Linked DNA regions of Homo sapiens: all the other regions are linked to region 2. The links are contacts of gene promoters, found by promoter capture Hi-C in blood cells and fetal thymus (Javierre and others, 2016). All regions are on one chromosome and are shown on one strand. Each heading gives the region's core, a stretch centred on a gene start or on the middle of the fragment in contact. The rest is flanking DNA. Distances are from core to core; before and after follow the strand shown. Region 1 overlaps ADARB1 (adenosine deaminase RNA specific B1). Region 2 holds the start of LINC01547 (long intergenic non-protein coding RNA 1547). Region 3 overlaps ADARB1 (adenosine deaminase RNA specific B1).

Region 1 (3,410 bases), core at 692-3,191, 160 kb after region 2:
GTTTATAAGGCCAGACAGAGTCCTTCTTCCCTGTAGAGCAGAAATGACCCCTAATATAGGAGCATATTGTTTTCCCTCAGCAGAGCAAATGCTTCAGTAGTAGTGTTACCAGCAGACAGATGGCGCTTTAGAGGTGACATGTGATAGATGCTTGGGACTGAAATTTAGCCGTGGATCATAGCCTGAATGGGATTTTCACGCATGTCTTCCCTCTCAGGATTTCTCTTAAGGGTTGTTGATTCCACATTTCTCCTTGAGGAGGGGGTGGTGGTAGGGCTGGTGACCGGGGAACTGTAATTTCCTGTGGGAGAGCAGCAATTTCATTATTCCTTTAATGAAGCTATAGTTGATCATCCTTCAGTGCCTAGTATACAGCCTGTTAAATTAGGGTCTTCGGATTGCTCTGCAAGCCTTTTTAAAAAAATAATTTACAGGCTGGGCGCGGTGGGTGGCTCACGCCTGTAATCCCAGCGCTTTGGGAGGCCGAGGCGGGTGGATCACTTGAGGTCAGGAGTTTGAGACCAGCCTGGCCAACATGGTGAAACCCTATCTCTACTAAAAGTACAAAAAAAATTAGCTGGGTGTGGTGGCGCACACCTGTGATCCCAGCGAGCAGGAGGCTGATACATGAGAATCACTTGAACCTTGGGAGGGGACCACTCCAGCCTGGGTGACAGAGCGAGACTCTGTCTCAAAAAAATAAAAAATAAAAATTTACAATTTATGTTAAAATATGTCATTTTAAGTTATGTAAATCCAAGCATAATTACTGAACACAAGGCTCAATCCAAAACATGCACAGTAAGCCCGTGTGAAGTGTTCACATGCTGTTCTGAGGCTGGCTGGATCTGGAGTTTCTGGGAGTGCTCTCTTGGGCTGGCACGTCTTGGGCTGTGGGGGCCCTGAAGCCCTCCTAGATGCTGGACATTGGTGTGTGTGCAACTTGGTGGTGGTGTTGGGGTTACTTTCCAGAAGCTACTCAAGGCTTAGTCTCAGTTTCTATCTAAAGATATTTATATGGGAAGTATTCCAAATGTGGATTTATAAAGATAACACATGGATAGAAATAGTGTAAAACTTGTGTGAACTGAACCAGCCAAGCTTCTAGTCTTCCCTTTCCAAAACTTTCCTTTTTCTCCCCCCGTGTTAAAGATTTAAAAATATATGTTTAAAAAGGTCACTTTTAACTTGTAAAAATTATTCAACATATACAGAAATTTAAAAAGCAGCATTGCAGGTTATGTGAGATTATGTATGTCTGCTCTTTGGAACTAGGTTGAAATGATAGCTACAAGGTTCTTTGGAAGAATGGGGATGTGTGGGTGAGAGTGGAGTAGACAGGCTGGGCTTACTAACTAGGCTTGCACTGGCCCCCGTCAGTCACTGTTCCCAAGTCAAATACTGCATTGCACTGAACACCAGAGCAGCAGTGCATTTCCTAGAGAACTCTGCAAGGCTACAGGTGGCAGACTTAGGGAGCGCTTGCCATCCCTGCCCTTCCCAGCTCTACCCAGAACAAGGAGGCCTCGCACACTACCTGGTCATATTTTGACTTCATGCATTTAATGAACCAAACTAAAGGTAAATATTTTCTTTTGATTCCCAAGGCAGACTTGTGGGTACCCAAGTTCCTCAGCCCATCTTTAACTCAGTAGGATGTGGCATCTCCATTGAGGCTCTTCATGGAATCCCTGGAGGTGAAACCTCGGTGTCCGGTTGCTCCAAACCAGTGCTGGTGGGATTCAGTTTTCTGGACCCATTTCTGGGTGAAGTCAAGGAATGGAGGCGGGCGGCTGTCAAGCGTCTCTGTTGCTCAATGGGGCAGGCCAGTCCCAGCGGCGACTTAGAGGTGGCTGGCTGGGCGTCCCTACAGGAGAATGGGCCACAGGGCCAGCGGGGCCAGCAGGATGAGCAGGCCTGGTTTGGGGTATGGGCCGCAGGCGTGGAGCTCGATGCTGGGCAGGGGCCTGCTCACTGACGAGTTGCCACCCGGGATTGGGGTAGGGGTGGGCGCGGTGGTCTCGGGCTCTGAGCGGCTCTGCACCGGCAGGAGCAGGACTGGCAGCAGCAGCAGCAGCGCCAGTGCGGATCGGGCCGCCATGGCCAAGCGCTCCGGCTCGTCCCGTAGCAGTGCCGCGGCGGCGGCCGCTGCCGGGAGTGTCTGTTCCGCGGTTACGCGGGGTCCTCTCCGGTCCTGTCCAGTGAGGTCCTGACAGCTGTACCCTGGCCCAACCCCTGCCCACGGCTGTTAACGATCAGCCTCGGGGAGCAGGTGTGCCGCCACGCGCGCCGTAGCGCTCCGGAGCTGGCTCTGCGCTCACGTGCTCGCTGTGCCCTGCGCGCGGGCGGGCCGTGTCCCCGCAGCCCCGCGCCTGGCGCTGCCAAGCTGCCCAGCGGGCTTTAGCAGGTGCTGAAATGCCCGCTGCCAGTCGCCGAGTGCTGGGTGCAGAGGATCTCTCCAGACACCTAGGCTCCCTTCTTTCGCGGCACGTGGGAAAAACTCCTGAAGTGCGTGCACAGAGTTTTTGTTTTAGAGGCTTTGACGTTATGATTAAGTATACCTGTGATGTAACGAAAACCTTTTTTAATGCTTCTCAAAAGATTTGCTAGCGTTTAACATTTACCTCCTGTACTGGAGTTTAAAGGAAGCGTTGCTTCTTAAGTAATCAGTGATCCTTTTGCTTTTGGAAATTGTAATGAACTTCACCATCGTAGAGCTTTAATATTTCTTTCCTGAAGCAGAAAGCATGTGAAATTTTCTGGATAGTGTATACTTAATACACAAGCTTTTGGAGTTTTTGAATGCTGGGTATGTTAGCACACCAGTCTTGCTGACTATTACGTGGGAGATGAGTGCTGCTTAAAATTGTGTAAGGGGTCAGTAGTTACAGTGGTGGACATACTTTTGCCAGACATGGTTTATTTTAAAGTGAACATATTTTGTGCTTATTTATTTATTTGGGACAGGGTCTCACTCTGTTACTCAGGCTGGAGTGCAGTGGTAATCATGGTTCACTGCAGCCTCAACTTCCAGGCTCAAGTGATCCTCCCACCTCAGCCTCCTGAGTAGCTGGGACTGTGGGGCTACAGGCGCACTACCACACCCAGCTAACTTTTTTTATTTTTTGTAGAGACGGAGTCTTGCTGTGTTGCCCAGGCTAGACTTGAACTCCTGGCGTCAAGCGATCCTCCCTCTTCGGCCTCCCAAGTTGCTGGGATTACAGATGTGAGCCACCATGCCTGGCCAATGTGCTTATTTTAATTCTAAATCAGAATTTCTATAATTATCTTCCTTACCTTGGTGTCTGTCTGTTATCAGCACAAGGGTTTAAAATAATTTTTGATTTCTTGGAAGTAATTACGCAGGCAGTTCAATGGGAGAAGGCACTTTCCTCAGCACATTTGGGGTG
Region 2 (3,835 bases), core at 237-2,736:
CCATGAAGTAAACTCACATTGGAATGGTTAACAGGTAAAGTGATCCAGCTGGCTGAAACAATAGGCATTCACCGGCATCCAAAGTACATAAAGATGAGCACTTTGAGACTGCGCCACTGCACTCCAGCCTGGGCGACAGAGTGAGACTCTCTCACCAAAAAAAAAACGTGAGCACTTTCACCTCAAGAGTCGCTAGGCTCAGATGCTGAATGCACCCTGAAGGAACTCTAAAGATACCAGCCTCTGGAGTTTTCACAGCCAACAGCATTCCTAGGTAGACTGGTTGAGAACACGGCTAGTTGGAGGGTAAAAAGAATGACTTGTGAATGCTCACTAGGTCTTTGAATATGTAAGTAGACACGACTTCAAGCCAGTTGCTCAGCCTTGAATATATCCTAGAGTCCATCACCTTGGGCTGTGAGTGGCTTGTGCGGTCATCTGTCCATCTCTCAGCTGGGCGAGAAACTTGATGTCCTTTCTGAGAGGTGGCCCTGGCTCTGCCTGGGACCTGCTACTCTTCTCCAAAGTGCATTTTTTGTGGGTGGGTTTTCACTGTGGGTCCTGGGCAGGTGAGTGCTGGTGCCCAGTGTTGGGGAGCAGGGTAGATAGAGGTGTGGCTGCTACCTGGCTGGGCCCGGACTTGGCAGCCTTCCTTCATGGCCCTCAGCCACAGCCTGTTCCATAGTTTGTTCTCGATGTGTCAGCTTTGTGTTCCCATGAGAACAATGGGCTCCTTGAGGACAGGCATTGCATCGTACCTGTGGTCTCTTCCCTAACGCCCCCCAGTACGCCCAGCATAGACAGCACAGGGTGCAAGCAGTCAGATGAGCAGGGCTCCCGTTCCCAGCACGGGACCCAGCCCGTTACCTCGCTGCTATGTTTCCCACGTAAACGGAGCAATACCCAATTCTAAAGAACTGTTCTGAGGACTAAATGGAATAGTGTAAAAAATAAATTGACATGAAGTGAAGGTCAATTAAAATGCACTAGCTTGGCCAGGCGCAGTGTGGCTCATGCCTGTAATCCCAGCGCTTTGGGAGGCCGAGGAGGGAGGATCGCTGGAGCCCAGGAGTTTAAGACCAGCCAGACAACACAGCAAGATCCCGGCTCTAGCAAAACATTAATAAAAATTAGCCGGGCGTGGCGGTGCCCACCGGTGGTCCCACCTTCTCGAGAGGCTGAGGCGGGAGGATCGCTCGAGTCCTGGACGTCGAGGCTGCAATGAGCCGATTTCGCGCCATTGCGCTCCAGCCTGGGCGACAGCGCGAGACTCCTTCTCAAATATAGAATTTTAAAAAGGCCATCTCGACTGCCGCGGGGGTCGCGTCCTCTCCATCCCCGACCTTGGACGCAACCCCGGGCTTGGGTCCCCCACGATCTAGACAGAAACTCGTTGTTTCTCGTGCTCCGCGCCACCCGCGTCCTCCGGTCTGTTTCTCCCAGGTGCGTCGGTGAAAGGCGGAGCGCCGCCACCCTACACCCGCGACCCTGCGCCCGCCCGAGCCGCTTCCGGGTACTTCCGGCGGCCGCGGGGCTCCCGGCAGCCGCGGCTCCTGTTTCCGCCGGGCGGCGAGAACGCAGGACCAGCTTCCGGGAGGCGCTCCGCACGTTTGCCGTGCTCCGCCGGGAAGATGGGGAAAGTGAGGGGGTTGCGCGCCCGAGTGCACCAGGCTGCCGTGAGGCCGAAAGGGGAGGCCGCCCCCGGCCCCGCGCCCCCTGCCCCGGAGGCGACCCCTCCGCCGGCCTCGGCCGCGGGGAAGGTGAGCTGGGGAGGCGCTGGCCGGGGGCTGCCGCGTGGGTCCGAGGGCGGGTGAGCTGCGGGGCGCCGCCTCCGGGAGGGTTCCGCGACCCCGGCCTTCCCTCGGGCTCTGCGGGCATTTGCTGCGCTACAGACGCGACCTTCTTGCTTCGCGAAGCGTCGTAAACTCCGAGGCTCCGCTCTGCGCTGCCGTCCTGGGCACACGGACTCGCGCCGCTCCCGGGGAGGGGAGAGAGCCAGGAACCTCCCGCTGCGGTCCAGGGTTGCCACGCGGACCCCAGAGGTTCCTGAATCGCACTGAGCTCCCCGGAAAGGAAAGGACGTTCCCAGAGTTAGAGAAGAACGGAGAGCAAACTGAAGAGAGACCCCGTTCCCTTTAGCAGTCGGCTGGCCTGTTTCTCCATCCCCCTCAGCCCTAAGCAAGCACGAATCTACCTTTTGTCTTTATTCTAGACACTGCATGTGAGTGGAATTATTGCTTTCAGGATTTTTTTTTTTTTTTGGCTTTTGCCTTAAATATTTTGACCGATGTGTCTTGGTGTAGGTATCTGCATTTATTTTGCGTGTTCACTGAGCTTCTTGCGTGTGTAGGTTAATGTTTTTCGTTACATTGGCAAGTCTTCAGCCATTATTTCCTTGAATATTTTTTTCTGCCCCTTTCTGTCACTCCTCTCTTTCGGATACTTCCATTATAAATATGTACGTCGTGCTTAATGGTGTCCCACAGTGCTCTGAGGCGCTGTTCACTCAGTTTTTCTCTTTTCTTCAGATGGCATAATCTATCTTAATTCAAGTTTACTGATGTTCTGCCAGCCCAGAGGTGCTTTTGAACCTTTCCAGTGAAATTTTCATTTTTTTTGACTCCAGAATTTATTTACTTTCTTTCTCTTCTCCTGTTCCTCCTCATTTTAAAAAATACTCTTTACTGATGTTTTCTGTTTGATGTGAGAATGTCATTATACCTTCGTTTAGTTCTTTAGACACGGTCTCTTTTAGTCCTTAGAAATATTTATAATGCCTACTCTGAATTCTTTACATGTGGGCTGCTCAAAGCAGTTTCTGTTGCCTGGCTCATGCTGGCAGGTAGGAGCAGGTGGGCCTTCTTTGAATGTATCACTTTTTGTGGAAAATTGGGCATTTTGGATAGTCCTGTAGCAACCAGGGATTAGTATCTGCTTGATTACTTTGTTTATTGATCTGGAACTGAACTATGTGACCTCTCTCCTTGTCCCCTTCTGGCTGTGTGCAGCCTCTGATGTGCCCCCTTGGTTTTTTTTTTTTCTTCCTGTTTTTCTCTTTTAGCCTGGCTAGTTGGATCTGCTTAAGCTCCTCACTGGTCAGCAATTGTTCTTAAAGCCTCCTTGGCCAGGGGGTTTTTGCCTTTTACCACTGGATACCTCTGGCTTGGAGGTGGCTGTCAGATTCAGCGTGTTCACATTTTTGACCTTCATTTCTGCCCTCAGAGGCACAGCCAAGGACTAGTAGCTTACAGAGTCCCTCTGCTCACTCCTGGTAGGGTGCGTCCTTGAACATGCGCACAGCCTCCAGACTGCCAGGGATGCGACCTCCTGGGAGTTGTTCCTGGGTCAGAGGGGCTTACTGTCTACCCAGGAGCCTTGGGCACCCTGCCCTCTGCATCTGTCACCACCCAGAGCTCCTTCCTGGTCAGCAACACCCTTAGGCGTGAGAGCCCTCACACGAGCTGCAGACAAGGCGAGTCCCTTCTGGCAGAGCTATGGAGTTCTTCCTTTTTGCAGCCTACCGCTCCTGGGCAAGAGCTCCGTGTCAGGACACCAGAGATGGGGCAGGAGCAGCTTCAGCTTCTCAGGTGACATCTCTCTCTACTAGCAGGAGAGGGGCGTGCCTTTAGTTGTCTTGGCTCATTGAAACCTGTGCCAGCATTTTTTTATTAAGCTCCAAAAATATGCATTAATGAGATATAAAGTGCTACCATGGAGAATGTCCCAGGTACAGTGGGAAAAGCAGTCGTCTGCCGTATACCAACATACATTCATGATCTGGAAGGCTGCATGCTGCACCCCTTGTCCCCACCTGGTCCCTGTTTGCCTGTGAGGC
Region 3 (3,560 bases), core at 222-2,721, 180 kb after region 2:
GGGTCTCGCTCTGTCACCCAGGGTGAAGTGCAGTAGTGTGATCGTGGCTCACTGCAGCCTCCACCTTCTGGGCTCAAGCAATACTCCTGTTATCAGCCTCTTGAGTAGCTTGGACCACAGTCACGTGCCACATTGACTGATTAATTTTTAAATTTTTTGTAGAGGTGGGGTCTTGCCGTGTTGCCCAGACTGGTCTCGAACTCCTAGGCTCAAGCCATCCTCCCACCTTGGCCTCCCAAAGTGCTGAGCACACCACTGTGCCTAGCCTAAAAGCCTTTTTAGATCACTCTCAGTGGCAAAATTAGTGCCTTGGTCACCTTTACCAGTAGCTGTTCTTGCTCTCCAGTGGAAATATCACTCAACATTATCAAAGAATCGGGATGAAATTAAATGAACCAGTTTAGGTACTTTTGATACAGAAGTTCTTATGAGACGTGTTGTTCTTTACTATGTAAGAGTGTGGCCATAAACTTAAAAATAGCTGGGTAACTTTGTTACACTTGCCTTGATGGTGTGTTGCAAGTTAGTTAAATTTCATATACTCTTAATCAGCACATCACCAACAAATAAAATGTTACTGCTGCATCAGAATTTAGAGGAGGTTCTATACATCTGTTTCGAAATAAAGACGGAGATGACTTAGGGTACTTATAAGTTGTTGAAAAATCATGGCTCCTGAAACTATGAATTGTCATCGTGGTATATACCCAGACAGCCCACATTAAACTGCTGTGAACATGAGAAAATGGACATCGAAATGATAAAAGCAAGAGTGTTGGTAATTGAAATCCATTATAAATAAAGCTGTCATTGGTAACGCACGAAATGCTGTTTCTGAGGATGAGGACTTTGTGGCCCCCACGTGGGCGCATTACCAAGCTTTGCAGCTCTGCACAGGAGCCTCCCTTCTTGATACTGAACTAGACCTCTATAAAGCCTAGTAACACCTCAGGTTTAGGTTATAAATCTTAAATTTTAGTGCCCCGTAATAATTCACTTCGTAGGTTACCATGGACTAGCCCTTAGTTGCACTGAGAAAAGAAAGGCTATGAAATTTTGTTGGTGAAGTGCCAAAGAAAGGATTGGGTTTTGGGTCATCTCACAGCCCATGGTGAGGGCTGTCTTTGGCCTCTACCGCACGGACAAGTTTGCATGTCAGATGTTGGCACACTTGTGGGGTATTGGGTTCTTTTGAATATCTGATTAAATCCATTTACATTTTCGTTAGAAAAATTCATCTGTGCATATGAACGCATCATTTCATATATGATTTCACACTTCTCATTGTCTTCCTGAAGCCCATTCGTGAACTGTCGATTGAATGCCTGCTCTGGAGAGGAGTGTGAAGCTGCACTTCTTCCGTCTCCTCCTGGCACTCGCTCAGGATCCTCACAGGTGTGGAAAACACTCTAAGGAAGCCTGCGAAGGCCAGATGTCTCCCTTTTGCCTTCTTTGGTTCTGTTCATGATGGCCTTATCACGGACACACTAGGACCCTCTGAGGACACCACCCCTGCCACCGCATTGCTCTGGGGGCAACTTCCGAGCTTATTGTCTTCCTCCAGCAAGGGCAGGAATGTGGAGAAGCTGTGTGTGCTGGGCCTTTACTTTCATTATTGGCGACAATGTTTGTTTTCATTTTATCAGCTTTCTTTATCCTCCATTTTTTTATCTTCCACAGGTAGTGTATATTTTGAGAACAGCGTGAGGTTTATTCTACTAATGGAAATTTACAAAAATACCAGTTTGAATGATTGAGAAATCTAAGTTAAAGAACCCTTGAATAGAAATGTCGCTGTTCAGTGCGTTGATCGATTCTCACATCTGAAGCCAGCTGTGTATTCTTGGTATGTGTGTATTCAACTCAGGTGTGACCTACTGTCTTTTATATGTCCCTGGATTTAAATATGCTAATTTTGTTATGATTTTTGTGTCTACATTTGTAAAAGCCGCTGATAGTTCATGTCTGGCACATTCTTGACAGATTTTACTACCGAGATTATACTGGGCTCGTAAAACGAGTGGGGGATGTTCCCTGTTTTTTTGTTCGCTGGAACGGTATGTGTAAGCTTTGTGCTTTTCCTTTATTCAGCCAGTGCTTTCACATGCTGCTTCCTTTTATAGCCACTCTTTTTTGCTACATATTCTTTCTCTACAAGAGCACAGTTCTTCTGGAATGTGTCCCTTAGGATTAACTATCTCAGGTGTGATTTGTGTGAAAACATCTTTATTCTTATTGTGGAAAGACTGTTGTTAGGTGGGGAGTTTACTTTCCCGTCTGCACATTGAAGATCTCATCCTGCTCCACTACTGGTCTCTTCCCTGGGCCCTGGGCATCCGCTCTCAGCCTGACTGTCCCCCTGTGCTCCCGCATCATTTCTCTGTGCTGTGTCTGGGTTCATGCTTATTTGTATTTATTCTGCTGCGGGTTAGTTGGCCGAATCTGTTTCTGTGAGAGCTCCCATGCTTTTGGTACTTTCTGTCTCTCGTGTGTCTCTGCACTGCTTTCTGGGTTATTGCTTCGGTTCTACTGCCCAGTTTGGCCATTTTCTCTTTAACTGTGTCTAATATGCTGCTAAAACCTGTCCACTGAGCTTTTAGCGTTAGTCATTATAGCTATTATTTCTGGAGGGTCTCTCTGCTTCCCTGTCCTGCCAAGTCCAATTGGTCATTCTTAGTTTACCTGTTTACTAACTGTTTGTATCTCCTTTAGCCGTTGTTTTCTGTACGTATATGGTGTGTTTGACTTTTCCAGCATGTTCAAGGCTGTTTTCCCAGCTGTATCCCCTCCTCTCGGGCCATCAACTTTTTGTTCCCCATTGTTGCTACTAATTCTTAGGACTAATAAAGCACTTCAAATGGCAGCTACTGTCAAAAATTAGGAAGAAGGCTTCTTTGCCGTAGCAGCCTCCAGTTGATTACTTTCTCTTGACCTGTACTTTACTTGCCACGAGCATATCATGCCTCTGTACTTGCTGCAGTAATTACTGTCTCGAAACAGTGAAATCTCATCAGTTGCCCATATGTGTTTAACTGCACACGCGTGCATAGTCTTGGCTTTATGCGAGGTAGAAAATGAGAGTACTTAGTTTTTGGCAGAGCAGAGCCTCAATTTCCACAGTCTAATTAAATTATAATGATAAATATCACTTTAAAAGGAAACAGTTGCTTCGTTTAATCAATATGATTATTACTGGCACAGCAAATCCATCAAGTGCTGTGAATGATAAATGTGTTTTAATACAACTTGCAGTGTACTTGCTGTTGGTACAAGGCATGTTAAATCCTCAGTGGTCCCTCTTTTCATAGCATTGCTGTGGCACTGGCATTTCCCTTTGTTAGGAGATAGTGGGGTATAAACCCATTGTGGAAACCCCTTCAGCTTGACAAATTTGGAGTCATGCTATTTTCAGAAGAGGATTTCCTGCGACTAGGAGCAGTCACCCAGAGAAAGCTCTGGAAAGGTGGTGGTGCTGGGGTTGAAGATGAGCTGCTGGCCCCTGGCATGTCAGTGGGCGGAGGTGGGAGACGTGCAGAGCTGCCTATCCCACAGTACTTCCC

The links. Contacts are between HindIII fragments. The CHiCAGO score rates a contact against its expected background, and 5 or more counts as called.
Region 1: a fragment that was not itself captured here is called in contact with the fragment with the promoter of LINC01547 in region 2 in 2 of 17 cell types (M0 macrophages and M1 macrophages); the score reaches 5.4 in M0 macrophages.
Region 3: a contact is called between a fragment that was not itself captured here and the fragment with the promoter of LINC01547 in region 2, in 4 of 17 cell types (naive CD8 T cells, M1 macrophages, M2 macrophages and 1 more). The highest score is 5.8, in naive CD8 T cells.

Annotation. Positions count from the first base shown.
Region 1 is chr21:45,098,946-45,102,355 of GRCh38, forward strand. All of the region lies in intron 1 of ADARB1 (adenosine deaminase RNA specific B1), which reads left to right. Among named protein-coding and RNA genes, the nearest start is that of ADARB1, 26 kb to the left of the region's middle. The HindIII fragment of the contact is 1,685 bases long and covers 1,100-2,784 here.
Region 2 is chr21:44,938,427-44,942,261 of GRCh38, forward strand. It overlaps LINC01547 (long intergenic non-protein coding RNA 1547), which reads right to left and starts at 1,487. Exons shown (of 4, transcript NR_027128.1): 1 at 1,167-1,487. SLX9 (SLX9 ribosome biogenesis factor) reads left to right here and starts at 1,603. Exons shown (of 6, transcript NM_058190.4): 1 at 1,603-1,760. The coding sequence starts at 1,632. RefSeq lists enhancers at 1,289-1,853, 2,038-2,087, 2,118-2,197 and a silencer at 1,428-1,947. The HindIII fragment of the contact is 6,939 bases long and covers 1-3,835 here.
Region 3 is chr21:45,119,114-45,122,673 of GRCh38, forward strand. All of the region lies in intron 1 of ADARB1 (adenosine deaminase RNA specific B1), which reads left to right. Among named protein-coding and RNA genes, the nearest start is that of ADARB1, 46 kb to the left of the region's middle. The HindIII fragment of the contact is 1,189 bases long and covers 878-2,066 here.